Regions from separate parts of the Homo sapiens genome. Here regions 2, 3 and 4 are each linked to region 1. Evidence: promoter capture Hi-C in 16 types of primary human blood cells and fetal thymus (Javierre and others, 2016). All regions are on one chromosome and are shown on one strand. The core of a region is centred on a gene start or on the middle of the fragment in contact, and the rest is flanking DNA. Distances in the headings are between cores, read along the strand shown. Region 1 holds the start of AP3M2 (adaptor related protein complex 3 subunit mu 2). Region 2 holds the start of GPAT4 (glycerol-3-phosphate acyltransferase 4). Region 3 holds the start of GINS4 (GINS complex subunit 4). Region 4 has its middle 17 kb from the start of CHRNB3.

What was found. Contacts are between HindIII fragments. The CHiCAGO score rates a contact against its expected background, and 5 or more counts as called.
Region 2: a contact is called between the fragment with the promoter of GPAT4 here and the fragment with the promoter of AP3M2 in region 1, in 1 of 17 cell types (naive B cells). The highest score is 5.6, in naive B cells.
Region 3: a contact is called between the fragment with the promoter of GINS4 here and the fragment with the promoter of AP3M2 in region 1, in 2 of 17 cell types (monocytes and neutrophils). The highest score is 5.7, in monocytes.
Region 4: a contact is called between a fragment that was not itself captured here and the fragment with the promoter of AP3M2 in region 1, in 1 of 17 cell types (megakaryocytes). The highest score is 5.7, in megakaryocytes.

Annotation. Positions count from the first base shown.
Region 1 is chr8:42,151,640-42,154,643 of GRCh38, forward strand. It overlaps AP3M2 (adaptor related protein complex 3 subunit mu 2), which reads left to right and starts at 1,424. Exons shown (of 9, transcript NM_006803.4): 1 at 1,424-1,466; 2 at 2,977-3,004. RefSeq lists an enhancer at 380-499 and a silencer at 1,330-1,939. The HindIII fragment of the contact is 5,843 bases long and covers 1-3,004 here.
Region 2 is chr8:41,576,824-41,579,885 of GRCh38, forward strand. It overlaps GPAT4 (glycerol-3-phosphate acyltransferase 4), which reads left to right and starts at 1,377. Exons shown (of 13, transcript NM_178819.4): 1 at 1,377-1,455. It overlaps GPAT4-AS1 (GPAT4 and GINS4 antisense RNA 1), which reads right to left and starts at 1,545. Exons shown (of 3, transcript NR_125824.1): 1 at 1,483-1,545. RefSeq lists silencers at 1,104-1,723, 1,744-1,883. The HindIII fragment of the contact is 4,489 bases long and covers 656-3,062 here.
Region 3 is chr8:41,527,576-41,530,520 of GRCh38, forward strand. GINS4 (GINS complex subunit 4) reads left to right here and starts at 1,686. Exons shown (of 8, transcript NM_032336.3): 1 at 1,686-1,821; 2 at 2,609-2,723. The coding sequence starts at 2,628. RefSeq lists a silencer at 1,232-1,661. The HindIII fragment of the contact is 13,395 bases long and covers 1-2,945 here.
Region 4 is chr8:42,679,048-42,681,916 of GRCh38, forward strand. No RefSeq gene overlaps it. Among named protein-coding and RNA genes, the nearest start is that of CHRNB3, 17 kb to the right of the region's middle. The HindIII fragment of the contact is 2,460 bases long and covers 288-2,747 here.

The sequences.
Region 1 (3,004 bases), core at 174-2,673:
CTGTAACCACAGGGACAATGCCTGTGACAGCAGTCATTGCAGCATCTCCAGCATCCAGCACAGGTCGATACGTGGGGGTTTTCGGCAAATGTTAATTCAGTGAATGAATGAGAAATTCTCACGGCAGCGACTGCATTTCTGCACCTTCGACACACATTATCACGTGTTATTGTATCTTGTGCTGTTCCTTAGGGCATAACAATTGCTAGCATTTTCTAACTCAATCCTCACAACTCTAGGAGGGAGGTACTATTCACGTTCTTATTTGAGAAGTGAGGAACTTGAAGTTTAGAGGAGTTACAGTTCTTTCTCACGGTCACTCAGGTTGTAAGTGTTGGAGCGGGTTCAAGCCAAGTCCTCTGGCACCAGCGTCCCTAAGCCCACCCAGAGTCATACCATTCTGCCATTTTGTTTCTGGCTTTTCTTCATAGTTCAAAGTCAGCCAACTACCTGCCCTTAGCAAGCGTGGAGAGAACCCCCCGCACCACCTCAGCAAAGGGCTTGTGTGTGGAGGAGCTGCCACCCACGCTCCATTTCACCAAAGTGACAACTAATGCTAGGGAGGGCGAACCTCTCATCGGCGAGGTCGCCACTGTCACCAGCGCCCACTGCTGGGTCCAAGGCTGGCGACGCCTCACCGCATCTGGGCTTGACTTCCTGCGTCACTGGGGCGACCCCTGGTCCTGACTTCCACTCCACGCCTTCGTGGATCAGGACGACTGGGACCACTCAAAAGCGTATCCAAGTCCTGAGGTCTCCAAAGCGGTGGAGAGACCCGCCCAGCCCCTCACTCCCCGGCTGGGAACTGAGATTGTGGAGGGTGGGCGCCCTGCCGCGGCCCAGTGGGGCTGGGGGCTTCCAGAGTCGGGGTCCAGGGCTCGGTGTCCGAGACTCCACCGCCAGCCGCGCCGACCTGACCCACGGCCGGGTACAACAGAGAAGGCGGCGCTTCCCAAAGGCACCGATGGAGTGCAGGGTAGCCGCCGCCCTCAGGATTTATCAACCGCGAGGCGCTGTCAGCAACTCGTGCCCGGAAGCCACCCCGCCCCGGCACACACATACTCCAGCGCCCCCTCCAGGCGCACTCCGCAAACACGCGAGCGCGGCGACCGCCCCAGCCCTTTGTGACTGGATGAGTGGGGCCGAGCAGCACGCACTGTCTTCGACCTCCAATCAGGACTCGGGGTCTCGGAGCTGTACCAATCGGAGATGACCGTGGCCTCAACAGGGCCAATCGGGGGACTCGAGCCCGACAACAGGGCAAGCCGCCAACAGCGATCAATCAGAGGGGAGGAGCGGCTCCCAGATACCCAATCAGCGGCCTTCAGGCGCAGATCGTGGGCGGAGCGGTAGCCAGGCCGCGGGCCGGCCAATCAGCGGGCGAGCGGCTGCCTCAGCGCGCGCGGCGGGCGGGGCGGGGCCTGTCCGCGCCTAGGAGCAGTGGGCGCTGAGAGCAGCAAGGCCAGGTGAGGAGTAGGGACGACCCCGAGCCTGGAGAGGGGGCAGGAGTGGGGGCGCGCGAGGGTCGGGGCGGGGTCTCAGGATGCAGCCGGGCGGCCTCTCAGGGCTGCGGACGCGGCGGGGAGAGGTGAGGGGCCGGGTTCAGAGTTCGGGGAGGGCGTCCTTCCCGGCGCCGCGGCTGCGGGCGGAGGGGACACTGTTGCCATGGCAGCGCACGTGCGCTCGCTGGCGCGGCCCGGCACCCCTGCGCTCTTCACCCCGGAACGCGCGTGCCCCTTCAGCCAGGCCCCTGCCCGCCTGCGCCCCGCGGCCTCCGTCGCCGCCGGCTCTGGGCCGGGGCCTGCGCAGGGACCGCCTGCCTAGGCCGCTGCCTCTCCCTCGCACCCCGGGCTGCCTGGCTGTCTCTCCCTCCTGCTGTCTCCTCCAGGCGGCGCTGGGCACCGCAGGCCTCTGCGTTTTGACCACCCGCGCCGGTTCGCGGAATGGCCACATCCTGGCGACTGGCACCAGAGAGATGCAACCGTCTGAGGGCCTTGGGGTGTCTGTCCCCCAGGGAAATTTTTTTTTTTTTTTGGAGGTGGAGGGGGCGGGGTTCTCCCTCTGTTGCCCGGGCTGATCTCGAACTCGTGAGCTCCAGCGGTCTGCCCGCGGAGGCCTCCCTAAGTACTGGGATCACAGGCGGGAGCCCCAAGGGATCTTTTTAAATGTCTTACTGCATTAACAAGTGCCTAAGGAGTGCTCAGAGAATAGCTCTGATTGGATGAATAAAGACCCCCAAGGGCAGCTTTCCATTCCTCCCACCAATTCTGGTGGGCAGAAATAGAAAGCAAACCACATATGTAATTGTACATGTTCTGGTAACCACTTTAAAATAATAAAACAGGTTAAATTAATTTTAATATATTTGATTTAACCCAGGATATCCAAAATGTTATTACAACATATAATCAATATTAAATTATTGGTAAGATATTTGAAATTTTTTTTTTCATGCAAAGCCTTTCAGATTTGTCGTGTGTCTTACACTTAACAGCACACCTCAGTCCGCACCAGCCACCTTTCAAGTGCTCGCTGGTCCCATAGTGGCTATCGTATTAAGCTGCGCATTTCTTGTGTATGTGTGAGCTGTTGCCAAAACATGACATCAAATTCAGTGTTCTTGGAAGCCCTCTTCAAAGAACACTGATTGTGTTGCAGTCAGGCAACGCAAAACATGAGGCACGGCCCTTTTCTTCAAGGAGTTTGCGGTTCGGTTGAGAAAATAGACACCCACAGATAAGTAGTATTTTAAATGGATGCAATTTGGGCGATAGTAAAGATAACTGGGAGTATATGATTGACAGTCAGATGACTGATCATTATCGTTTCGAATTCAAGGGAGGGCTATCTTCAGGCTCATGCAGGAGGGGAAGATTGGGCCTGGTCTTGAAAGATGGGTAAGTCTTGGACTGTTGGGAAAAGATGGGGAGGGCCTTTTGGTTGAATGGAACTGAATATCGCTGCTTTTGTTTTTAGAGTTGAAAACTTACAGAGTCCTGAGGCT
Region 2 (3,062 bases), core at 127-2,626, 570 kb before region 1:
TTTTTGAGTTTGGGTCTCGCTCTGTCACACAGGCTGGAGTATAGTGCCACAATCTCAGTTCACTGCAACATCTGCCTCCTGGGTTCATGCAATTCTCCTGTCTCAGCCTCCCGAGTAGCTGGGATTACAGGTGCGTGCCATCACCCCCGGCTAAATTTTGTATTTTTAGTAGAGACGGGGTTTCACCATGTTGGCCAGGCTGGTCTCAAACTCCTGGCCTTAAGTGATCTGTCCGCCTCTGCCTCCCAAAGTGCTGGGATTACAGGCGTGAGCTACCCGCGCCCCGCTCCCCCCACCATTTTTTTTTAATTTTCAAAATTTTTGTAGAAGTGGGGGTCTCGTTACGTTGCCCCGGCTAGTCTCAAACTCCTGGCCTCAAGCGATCCTCCTGCTTTGGCCTCCCAAAACGCTGGGATTACTGGCGTGAACTACCATACTCTGCCCTTTATTCTTACAGAGATTTTGAGGTCTAAGAATGTGGACTTTAAAGATTTCATTATCAGATTATGCATTTAGCACGGAATGACAATCTGACAGCCGTGTACAGCGTAAACCGGCGGAGAGGGCTTGGCACTAAAGGCAAACTGTCTTTTAAGAACAGGAAAAAGAAAGGTAATATATATTTTAAGGAGGTCCCATTTTAGGGGAGATAATAAGCTTGGGTTAGGCGTCCGAAGTCAGAAGATATAGTAAGAAACACACACGCAAACTCCAGCAGCCACCAGCTAGACTTGAGTAGAGAGAGCAGGTCCAAGTGGAGGTGGAAGTTGGAAAGTTGCATCTGCCAGGCAGGGCGAAAGTGGCCTACACCCACTCCTGGAGCACCCTGCTTGACGAGCAAGGTAGACGAGGCTGAGGGATACTGCTGGTGATGACGGTGGTCGTGGTGATGGTGCTGGTAGCTAACAGATCTTGAGCGTACCAGGCCCTGAGCTGAGTCCTCTAACGGGCAGAATGTCGCTGCATACGGACAGCAGCCTCAAGAGGACAAGGTGATTTAGTGACTCTAGCCTCTTCCCGCGGTGCCAGCCTGATTTCACCCTCTCCGGAACACACAAGCGAACCTCCGGGGAGGGAGCCAGTATCGGGTCCTAACGCAGGGAAGCGCTCCGCTTTCTGAGAGGGACGCGCCAGCGGAGGGACAGCCAGGGCCCGGCCTCTCCTGCTCCTGCCCCGCCCCGCCCCCGGCAGTGCCCCCTAGTCCGCCAGAGGGCGACTCCGCGGGTCGCCCAACCCGCGACCGGTCCACGCGGCACCCGCCTCTCCCTAGGCCCCCGCCCTGCCGGCCCGCGCGCGCCCGACGGGAGCGTGCGGGGCGGTGGGCGCAGGGTCACGTTGGGCGGCGCAGACAAAGGCGGGCGCGCGCACGTCCTGACGCAGCTTGGGCCCGCGGCGGCGGCAAGGGCGGGAGGGAGCGGTCGCCGCGGGATTTGGAGCTGCCTAGCCTCGCGGTCGGTGAGTAGGAGGGAGCTGGCCCCTTACCTCAAAGTCTCCGACCTCCGGGGAGCCGAGAGCGGGACGTGGGAGCCGGGCTTGGGCGGCCGCGCGGGGCCTGCGGTCTGGGACGCCCCGGCGACGCTGCGCCGGCGTCAGGAGGCACCATCGCCGCGCCCCGGGGATCCCCGGCGGGTGGAGCGGGTGCCCCCCGTCCGGGATGGAACGGTCCGCGCCCGCCCCGAACCCCGGCCGCCCGCCTCTCCGCTCGCCTGCTCTCCGAGCCCGGCTCCTCGGAGCCCCTCGCCTCCCCCAAGTCCCAGGTGTGCGCAGCCCTCCCGCCCCGGGAGTCCGGGGATGTGGGTGGCGAGGGCTGCTGGGCGTTGGAGCACCAGGAAGCGCCTTCCCCTGTCATTCCCCTTCCTGTGTTCTCTGGCTGCCGTAAGATGCATGTCTTTACCCTCTCCTTCTCCAAATGCATGCTCCCATTTTTCTTTAGGATTTCTTAACTCCTGAAATCCCTTGCCTTTCCTTTTTTATTTCAGCACCCTCTGAGGCATCCTTCTCCCAGTGGGGCTTGTTTATTTCCTCGCTTTCCATGTCACAGAGGGCTGAAGTTTAGCTGTTCAGAAGTTGCAGAAAATAGCTTATAGGAGACATACGGTGTAGCACGATGGAAATAAGTTCCATCCTCTGCCAAGTATTACCATGGATCTTCTCATGGATAACCTTGAGGTCATTTGAGGAATTTTGTTTTTGGTTCATTTTCCTTAATTTTGGCTGAACTTTGAGGAGCTCTCCTTAGTTTCATGTCTTGTAGATTCTATCTCAATCCAAGGGAAATGGTGTGAAGAGCAGTTATACCATACCAAAGTCTCCAGACAAAATCCTGTAATAATGCCAATCAAATATACTTCTCTCTTTGAAAGAGATGTGCTTTTCTTTTCTTTTTTAACTTTGTATTTTGGAGAATTTCAGACACAGGGAAATAGATGGAATAGGGAACCAGCATGTACTTGTTCTGGCCTCCTCAGCCACTTAACTGTGGCTATTCCTGTGCCATACACACCCCACCCATTTCCCCTCCCGTATGTCTCAGGGAGAACTTGATGCAAGATGAGTCTGTCAAAAGTAGCTTCAGTTCCATAATGAAAACCACCATACCAAGTCATAAGGTGCTTTTTGTTTTGGAACACAGCCTACTCATGAGGTCTTCAGCTAAGAAACACAGTAGAGTTGAAGAAAGAGCACAGCAAAAGGTATCTTAACATGATAGAACAGGTTAAAAGAAAAAGTATGGCCGGGCGTGGTGACTCACGCCGGTAATCCCAGCACTTTGGGAGGCCGAGGCGGGCGGATCACCTAAAGTCAGGAGTTCAAGACCAGCCTGGCCAACATGGTGAAACCCTGCATATACTAAAAATACAAAAATTAGCCGGACGTGGTGGCAAGTACTTGTATTCCCAGCTACTCGGGAGGCTGAGGCCGGAGAATCGCTTGAACCCAGGAGGCAGAGGTTGCAGTGAGCCAAGATTGCGCCGCTGCACTCCAGCCTGGGCGACAGAGCGAGACTCGTGTCAAAAAAAAAAAGAAAAGAAAAAAAGTGTTTCAGATCTGGATGAGAACAT
Region 3 (2,945 bases), core at 436-2,935, 620 kb before region 1:
CCCTTCCTTTTGGGAATCCCGTGCTGATATGCCCCAGCTTACACAGCGCTTTGTAAAGATGCCTACTCTCTCACTCGGCTTATTCTATTGTCATTTTCATAACAGGATTGTAATCAGGCAGGTACGATCATACTATATTAGCCAATCATTTTACTAGTCAATCAATATGACATCATAGGGCAGCTTTGCAAAGAGCCCTCAGATTGATGGAGAAGAGATACTTTTAGGGAAGCCAGAAGCAACGCTTTGCACAGAAAACAAAGGACAGCAAAGAGAAAAGAATCAGCAACTCAGAGAAGAAAAACTGGATCACACAAAGATGGAAAAAATATATACATATACAGACATGGGTTTTTGTGCTTTTCCCCTCCAGAAGGTGAGTTGAAAGCATTGCCCCAAAGCAGTGATTCTCTTTTCTTTTTTCTTTTTTTTTCTTTTTTTTGAGATGGAGTCTGGCTCTGTCTCCCAGGCTGGAGTGCAGTGACGCCATCTTGGCTCACTGCAGGCTCCGCCTCCCGGGTTCACGCCATTCTCCCGCCTCAGCCTCCCGAGTAGCTGGGACTACAGGCGCCCGCCACCACGCCCGGCTAATTTTTTTGTATTTTTAGTAGAGACGGGGTTTCACCATGTTAGCCAGGATGGTCTCGATCTCCTGACCTCGTGATCCGCCCACCTCGGCCTCCCAAAGTGCTGGGATTACAGGCGTGAGCCACCGCGCCCGGCCCCAAAGCAGTGATTCTCAAACCTCAGCTGTGTCAGGGTCACCGGGAGGGCCTGGGTCTGGTGAAATACCCCCAGTTTCTGATTCGGTGGGCCAGGGTGGGGCCTGAGAACCTGCATTTTCACGGATTCCCAGGCGATGCTTCTGCTGGTCGTCCGATCCCAGGCTTCAAGAACCAGTACCCACTTTGTGAGGCCGAGGTGGGAGGATTGCTTGGATCCTTGAGTTCGAGACCAGCCTGGCCATCATAGGGAGAACCTCCCCACCCCCAACCCCGCCACAGTTCTTTTTTTTTTTTTTTTTAATTAAAAAATAACTGGGCGTGGTGGCGCTGGCCTGTGGTCCCAGCTACTCCGGAGGCTGAGGTGGGAGGATCGCTGGAGCCCGGGAGGCGGAGGTTGCAGTGAGCTGTGGTGGTGCCACTGCACTCCAGCCTGGGCACCAGAACGAGACCCTGTCTCAAGAAAGATGAAAAGGAATATACTGGAGATTCTGAAGGCAATGACCACACTGACCACAGGTGAAACCCCGCAAAGACGGAGGAACCCAAAGAGCCACGAGAGCTGTGGGTGGAGACGGCCCAGGAGGCTGCAGCGGCCTGCTTTCAACAGCATACTTCTGGGTGGGACCCCCCGGGGCGGACACCGCCGCTCCCCTTGGCCGCGGTGGCGGGCGCCCCCTCCCGACGCTCTTGGGTAGTGCAACCCGGACCGCACAGCGGAGCGGCCGGCCCCCAGGTGGGCGGGGCCAACCCGGACCAGCCTCCCGCCGCCTCAAGTCCTTGGGTTGCTGGGACTGCAGGCCGCCGCGAAGACAGTCCCCGCCCGCCGGGTGGGCGGGCCCAAGGAGACCGCCCCGCTCTTCCCCCCGGGCCTTGATTGGTCAGCGTCGCCCTTGCGCGATGACGTCGTGCCTGGGCGGAAACTTTGCGAGAGTAGCGCGGGAGCTGAGAAGTTGCAGGGTTGAGTTGGTCCCGGCAAGTCCTTGAGCAGTTTGTTCCTCTGTCTTCCCGCTTCCTGGTGCCCCGACTGCGTCCCCACGAACGCCCCGTCCTTACCGCCGGCTGCTGTGGAGTGCCTCGCTGTCTCCCAGGTCCCCGAGTGAGCGTCGAATGGGACCTCTGTGGCTAGGGCAGGCCTGTGTGGGTGGCACTGAGAGGGAGGAGGGGAGGGGGATGTTCGCAGTTTCCTTGCGACCCCAGGGACTTTCTTTGTCCCCGCCATCCACCTCCTTAGGCCTTTGGGATCGCCGACTGGTCTAATGTCGCCGGCCCTTGTGGCTCTGGGAAATTAGCATTGATTAATCTTCCTAACAATTTTTGTTTTTATAGAGACAGGATCTCCCTATGTTGCCCAGGCTGGTCTCGAACTCCTGGGCTCAAGGTATCTTCCTGCCTCGGCTTCCCAAAGTGCTGGGATTACAGGCGTGAGCCCGGCCAGCTCCTAATAATGTTAAGTGCTTGCTAGGAGTCAAGCGCTGTGCTGAGCGCAGGGGCTTCCCACGTCATTGCGTCCCCAGTGCTTAGTGCCAGGCACTGAGCAGAGGCGCGATTCGTATTTGAACTAAAACGAACCCCGTCCCTGAGGAACAAGACCTCTACTGGGAAGTCAAAGAAATGAATAGTGATTGTATGGTGTGATGGGTGCTCAGCTCTTGGTGGACAGAAGTAAGGGGGAGGCTTGTTTGAGAAACGGATACCTGACCTAAGCCTTGGAGGAAGAGGCAGACACTGGAAAACTAGAGTCCCTGCGTTCTCTCACCACTTGCTAAAGGGCCTCTACAACCCCAGGAAACCTCAATAAACCTTTCCTTTCTCCAGATAGATGTCTGTTCTTGCAGATAATTAGAAAACGCATTGCAGAGTATTGGTTCTTTCCCTCTCATTAGGTTCCTGGTTTCAGAGAAGATGACCGAAGAAGTGGATTTCCTGGGACAGGACTCTGATGGGGGTAGTGAGGAAGTGGTCCTAACTCCTGCAGAGCTCATTGAAAGATTGGAGCAGGTAAGCATCCCAGATCGAATCCCTTTGCTCCAGTCAGCCTTTTTATTTAGTTCAACTGTGAATATCAGGGATCACAAGATGAGGAAACGGAATTTGGGGCTTACTTTAGAACAGGGACTGGATCTTACCATCTACATGGAAACGGGAAGCAAGAAGGACATCCTCTGTTAGAGACCTCATCATATCAAACACAGCATCCCCAAGTGGGGTCAGTAAGGGACA
Region 4 (2,869 bases), core at 268-2,767, 530 kb after region 1:
TCCCAGCACTTTGGGAGGCTGAGGCAGGAGGATCACTTGAGCTCAGGAGTTTGAGACCAGCCTGGCCAACAGAGTGAGACCCCCATCTCTATAAAAAAATGTAAAAATTAGCAGGTGTTGTGGTGCACACTTGTAGTCTCACCTACTAAGGAGACTGAGGTGGGAGGACTGCTTGAACCTGGGATGTCAAGGCTGTGGCGTGCTCAGCCCTGTCTGAAATAAAATAATAAAATTCTATGATTTACAGAACTGTGCTAAGGGGAGGCTCATGCACCTCACTAACTAGAAGCTTAATTTGTGCAGCTTATAGGCCCCTGCCAGGTTAGGGGTGTAATGACCAAACAAAAGAGGGCTGAAGTTTATGCTAGCAGCAAATGAACACTTAAAACACAAAAACAAAGAAAAAACTTTTATGTCAGAAAAAAACTTTAAGTCATAATTGCATCCAAACAACGTAATTGCACTCAAACAACAGCTATGTGGGGTTTTGTCTTTGTTTTTGTTTTTTGAGACAGAATCTCCCTCTGTCACTCTGGCTGGAGTGCCGTGGTGCAATCTTGGCTCACTGCCAACTCTGCCTCCTGGGTTCAAGCGATTTTCCTGCCTCAGCCTCCTGAGTAGCTGGGATTACAGGCATGCACACCATGCCAGGCTAATTTTTTGTATTTTCAGTAGAGATGGGGTTTCACCATGTTGACTAGGCCGGTCTTGAACTCTTGACCTCAAGTGATCCACCTGCCTCGGCCTCCCAAAGTGCTGGGATTACAGGTGTGAACTACCGTGCCCAGCCTCAAACAACAGCTATTTGGATAAGACAAAGTATTCCAATAGTCCTCAGCAGTCGCAAAAACAAAAACAAAAACCCAACACTTTGGATTCCCATATTATTATGCCTTATTGCTCCTTGACATCATTTGGATATTTGTCCCCACCCAGTTTTCATGCTGTGGGGCCTGCTGGGAGGTGATTGGATCATGGGGGTGGATTTCTCATGAATGGTTTAGCACCTTCCCCTTGGTGCTGTCCTTGCAATAGTGAGTGAGTTCCTGTGAGATCTGGTTGTTTAAAAGCGTGTGGCCCCGGCCGGGCGCGGTGGCTCACGCCTGTAATCCCAGCACTCTGGGAGGCTGAGGCAGGCAGATCACGAGGTCAGGAGTTCAAGACCAGCCTGGCTAACATTGTGAAACCCTGTCTCTACTAAAAATACAAAAATTAGCCGGGCATGGTGGCGCGAGCCTGTAATCCCAGTTACTTAGGAGGCTGAGGTAGACAACTGCTTGAATCCAAGAGGCAGAGGTTGCAGTGAGCCGAGATCATGCTGCTGCACTCCAGCCTGGGCAACAGAGTGAGACTCCGTCTCAAAAAAAATAAAAAGTGCGTGGCCTCTCCCCACTCGCTCTCTTGCCCCCCCTCTGCCATGTGGGATACCAGCTCCTGCTTCACCTCCTTCTTGGAGTAAAAGCCCCCTGAGGCCTTATAGGAAGCTGAACAGATGCTGGAGCCATGCTTGTACAACCCGCAGAACCCTGAGCAAATTAAACCTCTTTTCTCTATAAATCACCCAGTCTCGGGTATTTCTTTATAGCATCTCAACAGTGGCTTTACACATTCCTTCAACCAAGGTACATTTACTCTGTCATTTTGGAAAATGATGGGTGAGATTTCAGAAGCACCCAAGAACTCACCTAGAGGTCTACCCTTAAAACCTGATTGAGAATGTAGTTCATTCTGGTTCTTGGCTCAAGAAAGATCCTGGTAGTTTTAAGAAGGAAACAGCTTGCCACATGGGTAAGATGATTGTTCTATATGATGGAGGATTGGATAAGAGCAAACGAGGAAGGCACAGATATGTCAGCTGAATAAAAGAAGAAAAAGTGAAAAAGGAGAGTGCAGAAAAGCTGGAGGGTGAAAGAAATCTCCTCAAAGCATAGGTCAGGTTTCTGTTTACAAGTGCATTTTTCTCCTCTCCCCCACTCAGCTCCCATTAAAAGAGTTTTATTTATTTATTTATTATTTATTTATTTTTTTGAGATGGAGTTTCACTCTGTCGCCCAGGCTGCAGTGCAATGGGAATGGCACGATCTCGACTCACTGCAAGCTCTGCCTCCCAGGTTCAAGCGATTCTCCTGTCTCAGTCTCCTAAGTAGCTAGGATTACAGGCGCCTGCCACCACACCTGGCTAATTTTTGTATTTTTAGTAGAGACAGGGTTTCACCATGTTGGTCAGGCTGGTCTGGAACTCGACCTCAGGTGATCTGCCCGCCTCGGCCTCCCAAAGTGCTGGGATTACAGGCATGAGCCACCGCACCTGGCCAAGAGAGTTTTAAAAACTGCATTTGCACAAATTTCCTTAATCATACAGCTTAAAAGCCCCATGGCCTAGGAAGGCTACTGTCAAAATAATAATAATAATAATAATAATAATGTGTTGGTGAGGATGTGGAGAAACTGGAACTCTTGTGGGCCTCTGGTGGATATGTGAAATGGTGCGGCCGCTGTGGAAAACATTATGGTGGTTCCTGAAAACATTAAGAATAGAATTACTATGGGATATGGTCCAGCCGTTCCCCTTCTGAATATAGAAAATAATCAAAAGAGGTTTTATATGTCCATCGTCAGTCTGTTTTGTATTGCTATAAGGGAATGCTGAGACTGGGTAATTTATGAAAAAAAATGTATTTGGCTCACAGTTCTGTGGGCTGTACAGGAAGCACAGTGCCCCATCTGCTTCTGGGGCAGCTTCAGGAAGCTTCCAATCAGGGAGGAAAGGGAAGAAGGGGCAGCGTCTCTCATGGTGACAGAGGGAGCTAGGGAGAAGGAGGAGGTGCCAGCGCTTTTAAATTACCAGATTTTGTCTGAATTCACAGAG